Linked DNA regions of Homo sapiens: regions 1 and 2 are each linked to region 3. The links are contacts of gene promoters, found by promoter capture Hi-C in blood cells and fetal thymus (Javierre and others, 2016). All regions are on one chromosome and are shown on one strand. Each heading gives the region's core, a stretch centred on a gene start or on the middle of the fragment in contact. The rest is flanking DNA. Distances are from core to core; before and after follow the strand shown. Region 1 has its middle 16 kb from the start of FUCA2. Region 2 overlaps PHACTR2-AS1 (PHACTR2 antisense RNA 1). Region 3 holds the start of STX11 (syntaxin 11).

What was found. The method cuts DNA at HindIII sites, captures the fragments that hold promoters and counts their contacts. A CHiCAGO score of 5 or more calls a contact.
Region 1: a contact is called between a fragment that was not itself captured here and the fragment with the promoter of STX11 in region 3, in 1 of 17 cell types (monocytes). The highest score is 5.2, in monocytes.
Region 2: a fragment that was not itself captured here is called in contact with the fragment with the promoter of STX11 in region 3 in 1 of 17 cell types (neutrophils); the score reaches 5.8 in neutrophils.

What each region holds. Positions count from the first base shown.
Region 1 is chr6:143,526,599-143,529,736 of GRCh38, forward strand. No RefSeq gene overlaps it. Among named protein-coding and RNA genes, the nearest start is that of FUCA2, 16 kb to the left of the region's middle. The HindIII fragment of the contact is 5,428 bases long and covers 1-3,138 here.
Region 2 is chr6:143,564,084-143,567,167 of GRCh38, forward strand. The region is part of intron 1 of PHACTR2-AS1 (PHACTR2 antisense RNA 1); the gene reads right to left. It also overlaps a transcript of PHACTR2 not described here. Among named protein-coding and RNA genes, the nearest start is that of PHACTR2-AS1, 3.7 kb to the right of the region's middle. The HindIII fragment of the contact is 5,792 bases long and covers 1-3,084 here.
Region 3 is chr6:144,149,102-144,152,125 of GRCh38, forward strand. It overlaps STX11 (syntaxin 11), which reads left to right and starts at 1,416. Exons shown (of 2, transcript NM_003764.4): 1 at 1,416-1,602. RefSeq lists a silencer at 1,103-1,542. The HindIII fragment of the contact is 10,810 bases long and covers 1-3,024 here.

The DNA of each region.
Region 1 (3,138 bases), core at 181-2,680, 620 kb before region 3:
AGAAATAAGTTCTAGTGTCCTATACCATTATAGGATGACTATAGTTAACAATAACATATTATATAGTTTCAAATGGCTAGAAGGAGGATATTGAATGTTCCCAACACAAAGAAATGATAAATGTTTGGGATAAGGGATATGCTAATTACCCTGATGTGATCATATACATTATATGTATTGAAACATCGCTATGTACCCCACGAATATGCACAATTATTGTGTGTCAATTAAAAATAAAGGTATAAAAGAAAAAAAAACCCATGGCTGAGTGTAGCAGGGATGGAAGGAGTCCCTAGTGAATCACTTGCCTTCAATGAGAGAGTTAGAGTCACAGAAGCAGCAATTGCTGAGGCTAACACTCAAGATAGTCCCCTCCTGTCTTCCTACACTCATAAGCCCAAAAGTTCTTGTTTGGTTCAAGACAAGGAAGGCATCCTGGAAAATGTCTTTTAGGCAATGTTTGTAGAAGGAGCTGAGCTAGGTGTGATTTATAGAAACAAAGAAATAGAATGTGTATCCTGAATGTCTTAGAGCAGTGCTCCTACTACATGCCATTCATTACACCCAGTGCTTTATATACACGAATTTCAATCCTGAAAACACCACCACAAATTAAACGTATGCATTACTTAGGGATCAAATTGAGGTATCAAAATTGAAGCAAAAGACAGTGATGCTGATCACATTTCTTCTGTGCCTAAATCTTTTTACAGGCCTCTGTTTCACATTCCAGCACGTCCCCGCTCTCCTCCAAGCCTCCAGCCATACTCACCTCCCTCCTCTTCGCTTCCATTTTCCTGCCTTGGGCCCGCATGCATGGTATTTTCCCTGCCTGGGATGCCTTCCCTGCCTCTTCCTCTTTTTTATCCCTACTCACTTGTATAAGCCACTTCTTGTGTCCTGAAACTTTTCCTGACTCACCCCAAAAGGGTCAATTATTCCCTCCTTTATCTCTCCACTGTAGTTTGTACACCCCTGTCTCCTATGCTGCTAGTCCAAGATTAGAGAGATTCCTATTCACTTCTGTGTGCCCAGCACAGAGCCTGAGCCTGTTAGGACATAGTAGCTGTTTTAATTTATTTATGTTTTATTGTATTTTTAATTGACAAGTAATAATTGCATATATTTATAGCATACATGAAGTTTCAAGGCATGTATAGATTGTGGAATGATCAAATCAAGACAATTAGCCTATCTATTACTGCAAATATTTATCTTTTTTTGAGATGGGGTCTCACTGTGTTGCCCAGGCTGGAGTATAGTGGCTCAATCATGGCTTACTGCAGCCTCAACCTCCCTGGGCTCAGGTGATCCTCCCACCTCAGACACCAGAGTCTCTGGGAGTACAGGTGCACATCACCACACCTGGCTAATTTTTGTAGTTTTTTTGTAGTGATGGGGTTTTGCCATATTGCCCAGGCTGGTCTTGAACTCGTGGGCTTAAGCAATCTGCCTGTCTCAACCTCCCAAAACTAGGATTACGGGCGTGAGCCACTGCATCTGGCCCAAATATTTATCATTTCTTTGTTGTGAGAACACCTAAAATGCTCTCTTTTCATTATTCCACAAAATGTATATATTCCAAAATATGTATAGTCACCATGCTGTTGCGATACAGCACCAGACCTATTCCTCCTCCCGTCTGACTGACTGAAACCCTGGACCTGTTGAGTAACATCTCCTCTTTCTCCATCCACCCCATCGCACCCCAGTCTCTGATAACCACCATCCTACACTCCACTTCTATGAGTTTGTTTTAGAGTAAGAAGAAGAAAGGAAGAGTGGGAGGAAGAGAGCATGGTAAAGGAGGTGTTTACTTTTGCAGCCTGGTACTCTAGAGGGAAATGGTGGGATGGGCTCAAAACTATGAGCCAGCTTTGGCCTCTCTCATAAAATGAATTCATCTTCGATTTTAAAATGAAAACAAAGAAAAAATTTCACAGAACCATCACATTCCACACCAGAAGAGGCCTTAGAGACCATCAAAACTAACTTCCTGTTTTTTGTTTCTCTCTCTTTTTTTTAAGTGACTTTAAAAGCAGGCCTACTTTCACTATCAGATGGTGATTTATCCTCACTCTGCTGATTACCTGGATTCCTTGCCTTTCTCTTATTTCATTTTCATCGTGTATCGTCAATTTTGATCTCTGCCGTTTCTTTTCAGATAATATTTTGATCTTTCTCTTACTTGCAGTCATTTTTATCTGCCTATATTAAGGAAATGCTATTGTCAGTGAAAGACACTTAGTTCTAATGCCAAGTATTTTGGGAAAATATTTCATAAGAAAACATACCATATTTTTATGTGCATGTTTTGCATATAAACTCTGAGAAATAAAACTTTTTAATATATTTGGGGGATGGGGAAGATAGCAAAAGAAAACTGCAATTATAAAAATAATTAGTTAGAAGGGGATGGGTATTGTCTCAAGGAATGCCTTCAGGAAGTTTTGATTTTAACCAGAGTGTCACACCTGTTTCCATTACCATGAAAAATCCACATTCATGCATCTAAAGACTACTAGTGATGAAATAGGGACAAATTCAGTTACAAAGGTCGTTTAGCTCCCTAGCTTGTCTAATTTATGAAATGTGGATAGCTTTCATTATGTATTAAAGCCTTTGAATAACAATTCCTCCTTCTGTAAGTGAATCTGCAATGTATAAAGAGCCCTCCAAGTGGCACTGTGGCTTTAAGAGGGGCTCCTGGCACAGCAAGGAGGAGGAAGACACTGGCCAGAGATGAGACAGATCCCAGCCCACATTTGGGCTCCTGCTGAAGGCAGTGTTCCTAGCACTGATGGGCGGAACAAGCTAGTTGATAAATTTTCATTTATTTCTTTTATAATCTTACATAAGTCATCACTTTAAAGAGAGTGGTAAAGCAGTGAGGTACAGTTTTTTTGTTTCTGTTATTTTTTTTAATTTTATTTTTGGTATTAAACACTCTTATATGATTAAAACTATGCTTATTTCATCTTCAGTTTTTATCCCTAACCTTTTGGAAATGGTATTCAATGAAAATAGCTAAATAAACTAATAGAGTTTAGAAACATTTTGCTTTGAAAAGCTGTACTGGATGCCTCTTTTTTTAAAATCAGTGTCAAACAGGCACATTTCCTACGTGCTGGCCAACAT
Region 2 (3,084 bases), core at 521-3,020, 580 kb before region 3:
TGGGTTATTGAAATGCTTTAGAAAATTGTTAAACTGTTTACTTTTTTAAGTTTTTAGTCTGTCTTAGTTATATGTGTGTGTGCATATATGTGTGTGTGTATGTGTGTGTGTGCATATATATATATATATATATATATATATATATATATATATGTATGCCACTGCACTCTAACCTTGGCAACAGAGTGAGAACCTGTCTCTAAAAAATAGTAAAAAATAAGTTAATAATAAAATAAGTTGGCCAGGTGCAGTGGCTCATGCCTGTAATCACAGCACTTTGCAAGGCTGAGACACATAATAATGCCCAAGAGTAAAAATTAAGTAAACAGTTATAACATGATTAGTCATTTTATTTATTTTATTTTGCTGGATTGGAGTCTGCTGTTATATCATATAAAACATTTGCTAGGATTTTGTATTTTTAACACCCATGCACATTTATGGGAATTCATTAGAGGGGGAAGCCTGGATTTAAAATTTCCCTCCATGAAACAGTTAAAGATCAAGAGGTGAATCGTGTGGGATATGAAGCATGTCATGGCTGAGCTGCTGACGAGGCCTCGGCTGTGCTTTGCATCATGTAAGGGCTCAGCACCCTGAGAAGGTGCCTGGTAAATGCCACTGGCTGATCGGACGGCAGTTCTCGGAAGGCCTGCTGATCAGAAACAGAGCCTTTGGCAGAATCTCAATGGCAAAGTCACAAACAGTAACAGTCCCTAAAATAACAACTGCAACCTCAGCAAAATGAAAACCTTCTATGTGGGAGGTATAATGGGAAATGTATTGATTGGTATTTTTCTCCAGATACATGAATAGTGATCACAAGTAGAGATGCTCCCCTTTTCTACAAAGGAAAAGGTGTAAAACATTGGTTTTACAATGTAGGAAAACCAATAAAATGGTGGTATAAAACATTGATCACCATCAGCAGATTCTTCTAGCAAGAATGGCAGTTCAAGCCAATAGATATGTTTCATGAATTTTGTGGTTGCAAGTGGCTGGAATGGAATGAAAATCAGCTTTCACGAATCCATTCTCTCATTCTTCTCATTTTAATGAGCACCTACTGCATGCTAGGCATTGTTCTAGGTATGTGCAGGATATCAGCGAGCCTAGCCAAGATTAAATTCTCTCTGCTCAGATACAGAAAATAAGGGATACACATCATACAAAAATACATAATATGTTAGAAAGTGGAAAAAGTAAGTAGAAAAAAGAAAAAGTACAGCAGCAAGGGAAATTCAAGAGTGCCAGGCCGGGCGCGGTGGCTCACGCCTGTAATCCCGGCACTTTGGGAGTCCAAGGTGGGCGGATCACGAGGTCAGGAGATCGAGACCATCCTGGCTAACACGGTGAAACCCCGTCTCTACTAAAAATACAAAAAATTAGCCGGGCGTGGTGGTGGGCGCTACACGGGAAGCTGAGGCAGGAGAATGGCGTGAACCCGGGAGGCGGAGCTTGCAGTGAGCCAAGATCGCGCCACTGCACTCCAGCCTGGGTGACAGAGCGAGACTCCGTCTCAAAAAAAAAAAAAAAAAAAGAGTGCCAAAAAATGGTGGGCATGGAGCAGGGGCATTAGGTGGGCAGAGGCAGCTCTGCTGAGATGGTGATAAGTGAACAGAGTCCTGGAGCAGAAAACCAGTGGATGATGGGGGAAGAGCATTCCGGGTAAAGGAGGTAGGAGGGCCCCAGAATGGAGCCTGCCAAGCTGGATCTGGGCCTATGGTTGCTGCAGGGTGGAGTGAGGGCAGGGTCTTGCGGGCTTTCACTTTGGGCGGGAAGGGGAGTCTGCGCAGGGTCCTGAGCAGAGGAGTGAACTGACCTACAGATAATTTTTAAAAAGCATTCACTTTGCTGCTGTGTTGGAAATAGAGGGTAGGGGCATGGGCAGGGTGGAAGTCAGGAGGCTTGTGGGGGGTTATCCTTAGGTCCCAATGAGACACAGTGAAGGGCTGATCACCAGCCTCCAACTTCTGGGCTCAAGCAATCCTCCCGCCTTAGCTTTCTGAGTAGCTAGGCCTTCTGGTGCACATCATGCCCTGCTAATTTTTCTATTTTTTTGTAGAGATGGCATCTCGCTATGTTGCCCAAGCTGGCCTTGAACTCCAGGCCTCAAGCAATCCTCCTGCCTCAGCCTCCCAAAGTGCTGGGATTACAGGCATGAACCACTGCATCTTGCCAGTTTATTTTATTATTATCATTTATTTACTTATTTTGTATTTTTTTTTAGAGACAGGGTCTCACTCTGTTGCCAGGCTGGAGTTCAGTGGTACAATCGTAGCTCACTGCAGCCTCCAACTCCTGGGCTCAAGCCATCCTCCCACCTCAGCCTCACAAGTAGCTGGGACTACAGGCACATGCCACCATGCCCAGCTATTCTTTTGTTGTTGTTGTTGTTTTGTAGAGAAAGGGGTCTTACTGTGTTGCCCAGGCTGATGTTGAACTCCTGGCCTCAAGCAATCCTCCTACCTTGGCTTTCCAAAGTGCTTGGATTACAGATGTGAGCCACTGTGTCCAGCCATTTTTTAGTAAAACTTAAATATAAACCAAAAGTAGGTAGAATAGTCTAATGATCCCTCATGCACATGGTCCCTGTCCCTCTTACTAACTCATAGTCAAAATTGTTTCTTCCTCATGCCTATCTGCTTGCCTTCCCTAACCTCAGAATATTTTTAAATGAATTCCAGACATCATATTATTTTTCCCACAAATATTTCAGCATGTAATACTAAAGAATAAGGACTTTTCAAAAAAAAAAACCCCACAATGCCATTATCATACTAAAAAAAATTTAACATTAATAACATTAGCTAGTCAGTCAGCATTCAAATTTCCCCCATTGTCTCATCAATGAATGTTTGGATCAGGATCCGATTAAGTTTGACCCATTCCATTTGGTTCAGAATTTCCTTTTGAAGCGTCTCTGTAGATGATTTATCTAAAGCCATTAGCAGCCACACACTCAGTTCCGTGTTCCTCATCATCTACACGTCGCGCTCCTTTCTGTGTCTTTCCCAGAGCAGTGGCCTCTCTTGTCACTGTAACACTTTCACTTCTTTAATTCACTACCTCGAAGTACCAAAG
Region 3 (3,024 bases), core at 166-2,665:
GGCTTAGAACATCTGGCTGGGGTAGTGTCTGTCGGCTTTCTCCATTGTAAACCTACTGTTTTTCCCTTTCCACATTGTACTATTTTGGAGGAAGTCACTGTGCACAGCCTAGGGTACATGATCTACATAAATTATTTGGAATTATTCTGTATAGGAGATTTGTCTCCTCTCCGCCTTTTATTTATTTATTCAATTATTTATTTATATCAGTGTAGACTCATGGATTTTTTTACTTTGGCTTGTAATCCAATACTACCTTGTTTAGTTTACTTCGTTGCTCAAATGGTTCCATCTTTGGCAACTGGGAGCTTTCAGGTGGTTCCTGTGTCTAAACATTCTGCCATCAAGGCAGGATTCGTTCTTTAGTTTTATTTTTTTTCTTCTCATTCAATTGAGACAGCGTCTCATTCTGTCGCCCAGGCTGGAGTACAGTGGCGCGATCTCGGCTCACTGCATCCTTGACCTCTCAGCCTCAAGTGATCCTCCCACCTTAGCCTCCCGAGCAGCTGGGATCACAGCGTGCGCCACCACGCCCAGTTAATTTTTTTATTTTTTGTAGAGATAGGCTTTCACCACATCGCTCAGGCTGGTCTCAAACTCCTGGGCTCAAGAGATCCTCCCCCTTCGGCCTCCCAAAGTGTTAGGAATACGCGCGTGAGCCACCGCGCCCGGCCCGATTTTTCCTTTTTTGAGTATCACTTCCTTACTTTTCAGCCTCAGCCTTGTTTTTCAAGGTGCTTTACCACCACCTGGCACAATCCACACTTTCTATTTATCCCTCCCCGTTAAAGTGCCGGGACCTGGAGGGTGGGTCTTGGCAGTATTTTTGAGCGCGGTGGGCACACAAGGGGACGCTCAGTTGATATCCAGAGAATGATGAGCCCGGCGGGTGTTGAGGCCGACTGGAGAGAGGTTGGTCGGCAGGGTTCTGGGAAGGCGGTGCTCGGCCTCCGTGTGACCGCAGGCTCCTCGCCCGCGTCCTCGAGGGTCCCAGGGATGCAGGACCTGCCGCAGCTTCCGCAGCCACACCCACGCTCAGAGACGGCTTCCAGCGTCCTCGCCGCGGCAACGCACCGGACTGCAAATGTCACCAGCGCAGCGGGGATTCCCGGGGGAAGTCCAGCGCGCTCCCTGCCCTGGGGACCAGAGGACGAGCGGAGGAAGTGTCTTGGGCGGCAAACATCCCACTCCCCGCGCCGGTCCGCGCAGCCCGCGGGAACGCCCCTGGGCTTGCGGGAGGGGCTGGAGCGCGTCCCCGGCTCCGGGCGGTCCCGAGCGCATGGACTCTGGGTGGGGCGGGAACCCGCGCTCTGTGAGCCGGCTGCCGCCGCGCCCCAGCGCTGTCATCCCGGGGCGGGGCCTGGTCCCCAGCTGTGGTCGCTTCCTAAGCGGCGGGGGCTGAGCCGGCGGCGCCCAGATGCGGCCGCGGCGGCGCGGAGCTCGGGCGGCCGTGGAGGAACTCAGCCTCGGCCGCAGGAGGCGCCGGGAGCGGAGCCGCCGGGAGTCGCGCAACAGGTTTCCTTCTCCATCGCTGCGCCCACAGGGGACGCGCGCCCTGCCGGGAGAGGGGCTTCTCGGTTCGCACTCTCGCTCCCAGTCCAGGTTTGTTTTTCTCTTCCTGAGCCCCCATTTCTCTTCCTGACTATTTTCCCCGTGCGCGGAGAGATCGGGGAGGGCGGGTCGGGGCGGGGGCACTGTCTAGGCTCGGGACCCGCGGCTGTGCCTTAGGTGGGATTTTGGATCTGGCGCAGGTCCTCACGCCGCCTCTGGGCACCTTCGGAAACACAGCATTGGGTTTCTCATATAAAGCAGAATGATTTTTTAAAATTACTTTTAATTTCAGAGGCTGAGGGACTTAGGATTTAGTGCTTCGTAAGAATTATTTTAGGGATACCTGTTGGTAGGCTGCCTTTATAAAGTGTCCACCCAAGACTACTTTTATTTTAAATCGAAAGGCTGGAGTGTTTTTTTATTATCACCTCTTCACTTCCTAGTAGGGTGACTGTGTCAAAAACACCAGAATGGGTACTTCTTGACTTGAACTTGGCGGTGTCACTCAGTAGCCAGGAAAGACGGAGAAATTGATAGAGCCTTCGAGGAGTCCCTTCGAAGCCCACGTAAGACTTTGTTTTAGAAACATGGAGAGAAGTAGTGGCAATGCCTGCGAGAGCCACGCCGTCCTGAGAGGGAATTCTGCCTTTTTCTAGACTCCGCTGACACCAGCTGAGATCTGTATTACTTCCTGTGGTTCTCACGCACTTGTTTCAGCCGTTTCTCAGCAGAGGGAGGAGCTGTTATTTACAGGTATCCAAAAATGAGTCACAGGGCTGCTCTCTTAATTGTGAGACTTTGTTAATGAACTTTTGAAAAGCGAGGCTTGCTTTAAAATGAGACTCTAGATGTGAAATGCCTGCCCTGCCAACCTGGGGCAGTGGTATGGGAAGTGACGATTGAGTTTTCAGTTTCCTAAGGCGCCTGATGTTACAACATGCCAGTAAAGGTCACTGGGCTGATCTAAGATAACCATTGAAATCATGTGCTTTGCCACAGATGCCCAAGAGAAAATTAATTTCATTATTCAATGACCATTTTGCTGTCATTTTCACTGCATGGGAGAAAGGTATCATTTAATGTGGTGATTGTAAGTAACTCTCTAAAATCAAAATATTTCAGACAGTTTGTGTTTACTAAATTGGTGCTAAAACCACATGATGATTTTTGAAGCGGGTGGGTCCCAGCGGGAGCAGAGAAATTTAAAAGTTGAAGCTGACAAGTCCTATTGCGGTGGGTAACAGCCCTTAGGAAGGGACTGCACACTATCTCAACACGGTAGAGAAGGGGACACCATCTCTACTGGAGCTGAGTTGAGCTGAATTCAGCCTCAAACAACAGTTACCAGGTACCTTCTCTGTGCCAGCCTCTTCCCTGAACCTTGCTTGTACAACCATGAATAATAGGATCCTGCCGGCAAGGTACTAGGGTAAATCTATACCCAGAGTGAAGTTTCTGTGCCAATATAACTCA